Linked DNA regions of Homo sapiens: all the other regions are linked to region 3. The links are contacts of gene promoters, found by promoter capture Hi-C in human tissues and cell types (Jung and others, 2019). All regions are on one chromosome and are shown on one strand. Each heading gives the region's core, a stretch centred on a gene start or on the middle of the fragment in contact. The rest is flanking DNA. Distances are from core to core; before and after follow the strand shown. Region 1 overlaps THAP4 (THAP domain containing 4). Region 2 holds the start of D2HGDH (D-2-hydroxyglutarate dehydrogenase). Region 3 holds the start of FARP2 (FERM, ARH/RhoGEF and pleckstrin domain protein 2).

Evidence for each region. Contacts are between HindIII fragments. The study calls those that stand out against the background at their distance.
Region 1: a fragment that was not itself captured here is called in contact with the fragment with the promoter of FARP2 in region 3 in 1 of the 25 tissues and cell types used here (lymphoblastoid cells).
Region 2: the fragment with the promoter of D2HGDH here is called in contact with the fragment with the promoter of FARP2 in region 3 in 1 of the 25 tissues and cell types used here (spleen).

The regions. Positions count from the first base shown.
Region 1 is chr2:241,617,340-241,620,039 of GRCh38, forward strand. All of the region lies in intron 2 of THAP4 (THAP domain containing 4), which reads right to left. Among named protein-coding and RNA genes, the nearest start is that of THAP4, 18 kb to the right of the region's middle. RefSeq lists an enhancer at 194-313. The HindIII fragment of the contact is 4,913 bases long and covers 1-2,700 here.
Region 2 is chr2:241,733,313-241,736,012 of GRCh38, forward strand. D2HGDH (D-2-hydroxyglutarate dehydrogenase) reads left to right here and starts at 1,318. Exons shown (of 10, transcript NM_152783.5): 1 at 1,318-1,383; 2 at 1,821-2,204. The coding sequence starts at 1,913. RefSeq lists silencers at 845-894, 935-1,984, 1,995-2,104 and an enhancer at 2,145-2,384. The HindIII fragment of the contact is 17,644 bases long and covers 1-2,700 here.
Region 3 is chr2:241,355,035-241,357,734 of GRCh38, forward strand. FARP2 (FERM, ARH/RhoGEF and pleckstrin domain protein 2) reads left to right here and starts at 1,251. Exons shown (of 27, transcript NM_014808.4): 1 at 1,251-1,354. RefSeq lists a silencer at 1,039-1,588. The HindIII fragment of the contact is 18,573 bases long and covers 1-2,700 here.

The DNA of each region.
Region 1 (2,700 bases), core at 43-2,542, 260 kb after region 3:
ACAAAAATTTAAATTTCCTGCAAGAAATTTAAATTTTCATGTTTTGGCCCAAGACACTGAAAGCAGGCTTACCCATCCCTAAGTTTTCTAAACTCCGGACACTCGTCAAGGTTCCTCAAGGTTGTTTTCTGCCAATTGACGGGAAATGTTTGCACCTGGCTCTTAATGGCTCTGCAGGAAGTGAATGCTAACTTTAAATGGTGCATTCTGGGAATTGTAGTTCCACTATGAAAGATCACGTCTCAGAAGAAAGTAAAAGACAATGACAGCCCAGATCACAGAATTTCAGAGCTGGAAGGAGCTTTGGAGGTTAGGTGAATTTTATGAAAGAGGGACTGGCCAGAGGTCTGGGCGGAGTGACGAGTGCGGCTTCTACCCTCAGCCTCCTCCACCAGCTACAGCAGAGGAAGGCAACACCACAGAGACAGGCACATCCTAAATGCTTTCTCTCTCCAGAGCAGTCCCTCTGGCCACCCCTGGCATGTCCTTTTCTGTCTCCTAGAGGGTGGCTGGAGACTCATCTTCACCTGGACATGGAGGCTCCAGAGACTGTCCTGTCTCCTGGCAAGCGGCCCGGGAACCCAGGACAGGAAGTGAGCAAATGCACCCACTGGGACCTGGGGACGGCTCCTTCCTGGAGCTCCCACCCTCACATCTCTTTGTGTTAGTGACACGTTGTTTCCTGCCAAGGCACACACAGAAAGGGACACTTACTGCTTAGTACAACAGGGTGCATGGAAGCTGAGGGTGCGCGGCCCGCACCAGCTGTCCCAAGGTGGGGAGGAGCTGTCCAGGAACACCGTGATATGTTTGGGTCCACTGACAAGGCATACCAGCAGGGAACTGTTGTTTTAAAGTGACATCAAGGCCCTCAACTTATCAACCATGAAACGGAAGGAGTTGCATGCCCAGGGGAAAAACAGAAATCATGATGGAGAGAAAATACAGCAAGTATTTCTATAAAATATAAAAAGGCCATAAAGTGGATACAAATAATTTGCAAATGTTATGTTTGATTTCCTCGTTAATCTGAGTCTCAATTGAAGAACTATTAGAATCTACAAGTGAATTTGATAAGATGGCCAATTACTAAAATGGGTAGCTTTCCCACACGCTAGCAATAACCGAAAAATAATGGGTGGGGAGTAAGCTTCCGGTTTCCACTCTCACATGTAAAGAGCTTAGGAGTCATATACCACAGCCTTAAAACAACAGCAAAAAACACTGAAAGAAGTGAAAATCAACAACTTTTCTTGGATCCATAAGGAAGTGAGGTCACAGATGTCTCTCCTGCCACAGAGAATAGCAGTGAGATCAGCTCACGTGGAGCAGAATCTACAGTCTACAGGGGAAGGAACTGGTGGGAACTTGATTTGGACAAAATGCTGGAGGCTGAACATGGCAGGTGTGAGAATCTCCTGGGGTCCTACATTTTCATAGGTTTCACCTCCAGGAACCCCATCAGGTTCTCCCCACGAAAAGCCAAGAAAAAAAAAAACACCTCATGTCTCTGGGATGAGGAGGGGGAGGTGACCACCTTGAAATGAGCCCAGAGCGTTCTCCAGGCAAAGGCCAGGCCTGCTCTGTAGCGAAGCTGACTTCACCAGGACCTCATCTCAGCTGGGAAGGGCATTTCACTGCTCCAGCCCCACCAGTCTTCCGTCTCACCCAAGCGGGGAGGAGAAAGGGAAAGACACGTGTGAAGGTCACGGCTCAGGGACACGGGCCACTGAAGGGCTTAAATCGAGTCACAGGCTGGAGCCTGCTTCCCCTCCCAGCCCTGCAGGCTCCAGCATAACATCCTGGGTGGGAGTGGAAAGGGCCCAGGCGCAGGCTGTGGAAGGCATGCTCGGAGAAACTCCACGACAACAGGGAGACAAAACAAGGACACTCGAGGAATTTTACAGCCACTGCAGGATTAAACACAGCCCGAGTGCCAGCCAGGTTAAGGGGATGGATGCCCTCCAAACAAGGCACACTTACTTCACCTTTCAGTCAAGCAGCACTTACTGATGGGGGATGCGTTGACAAACACGTCATGAGGCAAGTTCATCATTGTACAAACGTCACAGAGTGCACTTACCGCGTACCACGCACCTAGGCTGTATGGCACAGCCTGTGCTCCCAGGCTACACACCCCAGTGTGTTACTGAATACTGTAGGCAGTTGTAACACAGTGCCAAGGGTGTGTGTACCTAAAACACATCTAAACATAGAAAACCTACAGTAAAAATATGGCATAAGAGACAAAAAATGGTTCACCTGCATAAGGCACTTACCAGCACTGGAGTGTGCAGCATGGGCAGTTGCTCTGGGTGAGTTGGTGAGTAAGTTGGTAAGTGAGGGGTGAGGGGTGAGTGAGTCGGTGAGTGAAGGGTGAGTGAGTCGGTGAGGGGTGAGTGAGGGGTGAGTGAGTTGGTGAGTGAGGGGTGAGTGAGTCGGTGAGTGAGGGGTGCGTGAGTCGTGAGTGAGGGGTGAGTGAGTTGTGAGTCGTGAGTGAGGGGTGAGTGAGGGGTGAGTGAGGAGTCGGTGAGTGAGGGGTGAGTGAGGGGTGAGTCGTGAGTGAGGGGTGAATGAGGGGTGAGTGAGGGGTGAGGGGTGAGTGAGTCATTGAGTGAGGGGTGAGGGGTGAGTGAGTCGGTGAGTGAGGGGTGAGTGAGTCAGTGAGTGAGGGATGAGTGAGGGGTGAGTTGGTGAGTG
Region 2 (2,700 bases), core at 68-2,567, 380 kb after region 3:
TCCAGTTCCTGAATGTGTAATTGCAACAGTTACCCTTGACAATGGGCAAACTCCCACACTCATCTGCAGAGCAAGGGCCAGCCAGGTAGGAAGGGCCAGGTGGATGTCTCCTTTCCAGGGTTGTATGAATGATTCACCTGGGAAGAAGGTGAGTGGCCTCTGGGGATGTGGTTAAGGAGGACAGGAATGACTCCTTGCAACTGCTGCTCCAGAGCCTCATCACCAGGACAAATCCAGCTCGCCGGTTTTCTGTGTGACTACCAGGACCCATCTGCTGTCACGGGCGTAGCCTCCACCTCTTGCACAGCTCCGCAGTCCTGCCTCGGGCCAAGTGTGGTCTCCTGCTCTCTGCCCTCATCTGCTCAGAGATTGGCATCCTCTGCACCCGCTAGGGTTCTATGGAATTGGGTGAGCTGAAGTAACAAGTGCTTTGGGAGGCCGACGCGGGCGGATCGCTTGAGTCCAGGAGTTCGAGACCAGCCTGGGCAGCACATGAGACCTCATCTCTACAAAAATACAACAACAACAAAAAATTAGCCGGGTGTGGTGGTGCACGCCCGTAGTCCCAGCTACTTGGGTGGCCGAGGTGGGAGGATGGTTTGAGCTCGGGAGGCAGAGGTTGCAGTGAGCTGAGATCAACCCCAGAACTCCAGCCTGGGCAACAGAGCTAGACCCTGTCTCAAAAAAACACAAAACAAGTGCTGGCGATGCCTCAGGCAGGGGATCCCAGGCCGGGAGGCTCCTCGGGACAGCAGTTACTGCGTCAGGAGGGCAGGAGCTCCCCAGGTGTGCAAAGGGTTTGAGGGCACGGAGGGCTGAACAGGCAGAAGGGACAGGGAGGCAAGAAAACACCTGCAGGAGGCAGCTGCCCCCTAAGCTAAGGCTGGGGACCCAGGAGGGGTGGTCCGTGCAGGAGCTGGGGAGGCCGCTGGGGAAAGGGGCGCCCCCTGGGCTCGGCCTCGGAGGAGCGGGCCGGCCCCCAGGTCCCTCGGCCGAGCCCACGTCCCGGGCCTCGTTCTGGAGAACCCTCCAGCTGCTGCTTGGGCGTCTTGGGCTGCGCTCAGCCTAGTCCCTTCTCTACCTGGAGGGATGCGCCCGACAGCCGGCGCGCCGGAGGCCCTCAGGAAACGCAGGACGAGGCGGTGGCCGTCGAGCCTCCGGTGCCAGTCGGGGCGGGGCTTGGACGGCGGGGCGGGGACTGTAGGCGCGCAGGGCTGGGCCTGGAGGGCAGGCGGGGCGGGGCCCGTTAGGCGCGCGGGGCGGGGCTTCGGCCGCTGGGCGGAGCCGTCAATGCGCAGGCGCGGCGTCGCCCCGCCCACTCCGGCTCGGCGGCTCTGGGCCTGCGGCGGGCGCTGCGGGTTGGAGCTCGGGACGTGATCGTGGGTGCGTGCGCGCGGCCGCGCGGAGCGCTGGGCTGAGGGTCCCGGTCTGCGGTTCAGCCGCGGGTCGGGGTGGCGGGGCGCGATCTCGGGCGCCGTCAGCCAGTCGGTGCCTGTGGGGGGAGGGGGACGGCGCTGCAGCTCGTCACGTGACCGCGTGGAACACGCGCGCGCGTCCGCGGGATCCCCTCGGGGGGCGAGCTCGGAGGAACGGGGTCCTGGGCAAGGTCCCGGCGAGGCCGCCCCGAGCCTGCGCGTCGCTAAGTCCAGGCCTGCTGCGTGGGGCTTCGCGCGCTCGCGGGGTTGCGGCCCGGGCAGGGGGAGGGCCCGGGTGCTCGGAGCCTTCCCTTCGCTGCCCTCCTGCCCCCTCCCTGCTTCTGCAAGCGTGTTTCAATTTGTACAACGTGCATAAAACATGAAATTACCCTTGGCCACTTCCAGGCGCGCAGCCAGCGGCTCCCTGCCCTTCCCCTCCGGGCCCTGAGTACCGGCCCCCCACCAAGGAGGAGCCCGAGGTCTCCGTCCCGGCGGCGATGCTGCCCCGTCGGCCTCTGGCGTGGCCCGCGTGGCTGTTGCGGGGTGCTCCGGGAGCCGCGGGTTCTTGGGGTCGGCCGGTTGGCCCCCTGGCCCGCAGAGGCTGCTGCTCCGCCCCGGGGACCCCCGAGGTGCCGCTGACCCGGGAGCGCTACCCCGTGCGGCGCTTGCCGTTCTCCACGGTGTCTAAGCAGGACCTGGCCGCCTTTGAGCGCATCGTGCCCGGCGGGGTCGTCACGGACCCGGAAGCGCTGCAGGCTCCCAACGTGGACTGGTTGCGGACGCTGCGAGGTGGGTGAGGCTTGGGAAGCTGCGGCGTTTCCGCGTCCCTGCTCCGCTGCGCCTTCCCGTGGAGGCTTCAAAGCGGGCTGAGAACAACCTGGATGGGGGTGCCAGCCCCTGGCTGCGCTGAGAGGGGCGTGTGCACCGCCACAGGCTGCTGGAATGAATGACCACGAACGAGTCGCTTAGAACAACCCAAGTTTTGTTGTTGTTGTTGTTTTGTTTTTTCTTTTTTTTAAGACGGAGTCTCACTCTGTCGCCAGGCTGGAGTGCAGTCACGGAGTTTCACTCTGTCGCCAGGCCGGAGTGCAGTGGCGCGACGTCGGCTCACTGCCACCTCTGCCTCCCGGGTTCAAGCGATTTGCCTGCCTCAGCCTCCCTAGTAGCTGCGACTACAGGCGCCCGCCACCACGTTCCGCTAATTTTTGTATTTTTAGTAGAGACAGGGTTTCACCATGTTGGCCAGGATGGTCTCGATCTCTTGACCTCGTGATCCGTCCGCCTC
Region 3 (2,700 bases), core at 1-2,500:
CACAGCACCATAGGAGGAGTCTCTTAAGTGCCCGGGTGTTTCCTGAAGTTAATTATTCCCTCAACAGCCACATGGTGACAGTGGGTGACAGGGCCGGGCTAGGAGAGCACGATGGGTAGGGTCTTGAAGAACACATAGGAGTTCAATGAACTTCTCAAGAGAAGGGAAGTGTGCCACAGCAAGTCAGTCTTCCATTCTCGGGTGGGGGTCCCTAGGCCAGAGGAAGGCCGTCCTGGCCGCCACCACGGAGCAGCCTGTCTCAGCCTTAGCACAGCCTCGCGCGATCCTTCGATGATCCCCTTCGGTCCCTGTAGTCCCACGAGGGATGCAATGCGTTGGAGGAAGGAGGAGGCTGGCAGCCAGGGACTGAGCCAAAGGGTGCAAGGACAGCCGGCAAGGCCCGGGCCAAGACCTATCCCCGCCCAGCGAGCCAGGCCTCGCCCAGCACCTATCCGCGCCCAGCAAGCCTAGGCCTCGCCCAGCACCTATCCGCGCCCAGCAAGCCTAGGCCTCGCCCAGCACCTATCCGCGCCCAGCGAGCCTAGACCTCGCCCAAGACCTAGCCCCGCCCAGCGAGCCGACTCCCCGCCCAGGACCTAGCCCCGCCCAGCGAGCCGACTCCCCGCCCAGGACCTAGCCCCGCCCAGCGAGCCGACTCCCCGCCCAGGACCTAGCCCCGCCCAGCGAGCCGACTCCCCGCCCAGGACCTAGCCCCGCCCAGCGAGCCGACTCCCCGCCCAGGACCTAGCCCCGCCCAGCGAGCCGACTCCCCGCCCAGGACCTAGCCCCGCCCAGCGAGCCGACTCCCCGCCCAGGACCTAGCCCCGCCCAGCGAGCCGACTCCCCGCCCAGGACCTAGCCCCGCCCAGCGAGCCGACTCCCCGCCCAGGACCTAGCCCCGCCCAGCGAGCCGACTCCCCGCCCAGGACCTAGCCCCACCCAACGAGCCGACTCCCCGCCCAAGATCTAGCCCCGCCCAGCGAGCCTTGGCTTCGCCTAGGACATTGCCTCGCTCAGCAAGCCGACGCCCCGCCCAACGAGCCGAGCGCTGCACAGATTTATATCCTACGCAGCTGCCTGCCTGCTCCCGCCCCTTCTCCGTCCGTTCACCAATCAGAACTCGATCTTGCGCTTTCAGGCCGCGGGACGGGAAGGCTCCGCCCTGGCGCCCCGCAGGCCAATCGACTGCGCGTCCGCGTCGCGGGGGCGGGGTCAGGGCGGGGCGCGCTGCGCGGGGGCTGCCGGCGGGCAGTTGGGAGCAGGCGACGCCGACGCGAGTCTGGCGGCTGCTGCTTGCGACTGCGGAGGCCGGGCGAGGCCGGTGAGGACGCGGCGGGCGAGCGAGAGGCCGAGGGTGAGGACGTGAAGCGGCCTGGGCGCGTGGGGCAGGGGTGGGCCTCTCCGGGTGGGCGGCGAAGCCCGAGGCCCGAGGCGAGAGGCCCAGGCGGGGGGGGCGCTGAGGCCGCGGTCCACCAGAGATGGTCCCGCCCGGCCTCTGAAGGCCATCGTGAGGCGGCTGGAGCTCCTAGGCGGGTCCGGGTTAGAGGAGCGTCCGTCTGTAGGGAGCCTGCCGCGTGGGGGCAGGCGGGGCGGTGGGCCGGGGAGTGGCCCGCGTGGACTCCCGGGTTGAGGGGTGCCGCGTGGAGGAGGCCGGTGGGGCTGTAGACCGGGGAGTGTCCCGCGTGGACTCGCGGGTTGAGTTGTGCCCCGTGGAGGCCGGCAGGGCCGTGGGCCGGGGAGTGTCCCATCCCGGAAGGACACCCCAGAGTGGGCCATAGGGACCCGCAGGGTATGGGCCTGGAGGTGCCTGGTGGAGGCATTTTGAGCCGTTTGCCTTTTTAGCATTTCTTTAAATTGTATCTTAAAGGTGGGAATCAAGTGTTAGGTGTTAATATTTTTACTCCACTAAGGGCTAGAAATACTCATAAGCCAGTGGGTAGCCTTTGGGAAACCCATGAAAACTGGGGACCAGAATATGGCCCAGTACATTACACACCCGAATTACGGGCACCTTTTCCGTTTACGCTATGGCAGCAACCCCTGGCCTATCATGTGCCATTAATGGATGTGAAAAGCAGAAATTAGAACAAGGCATCATTGAAGGAAAGATTGTCAATACATAGTGTTAAAAAGGGATGGGCAAATTTAAAACCCAAGGCCAAATCTTTAAAGGGTGGTTTTTCTCTCTGGGTTTTTGTTTTTGTTTTGTTTCCGTGGGATATTTTTGTCTGGGCCACTGTGTAAATGTTTGATAACCCTGAGGTGGCAGTGGGTTAGCGTGTTGGTCTTGTGTAGACTGCCTTATAACAGGCGACACAGATTTTCTCAGTACCAGAGAGATGGGAGAGGACATTTGAGGTAGGGAAGCATGGAGTAACCTTTACTTGTAGGCCAAATATAATTTAAATTTTCTACATCTGCTTGTTGAAAGTTTTGTTTTGTTTTGTTTTTTGAGGTCCTTAAAGGTTTAGGAAGCACTTCATGCTCGTTATTTATTCAGTTTTCCAAAACTCTTCAGAGACATGACCAAGTTGCACAGCCCCGTTTTAAAGTAGAGGAAAGGGAGGTTGAGAGAGGTGGAATGACCAGTTTAGGGTCACACCTAGGGTACTTGCAAATACCATCTGTACTTCTCATGTGCCCTATCCTTGTTGCAGATTCTCATTAGGTGGTTCACTGTTAACAAACTAAATGCTGATG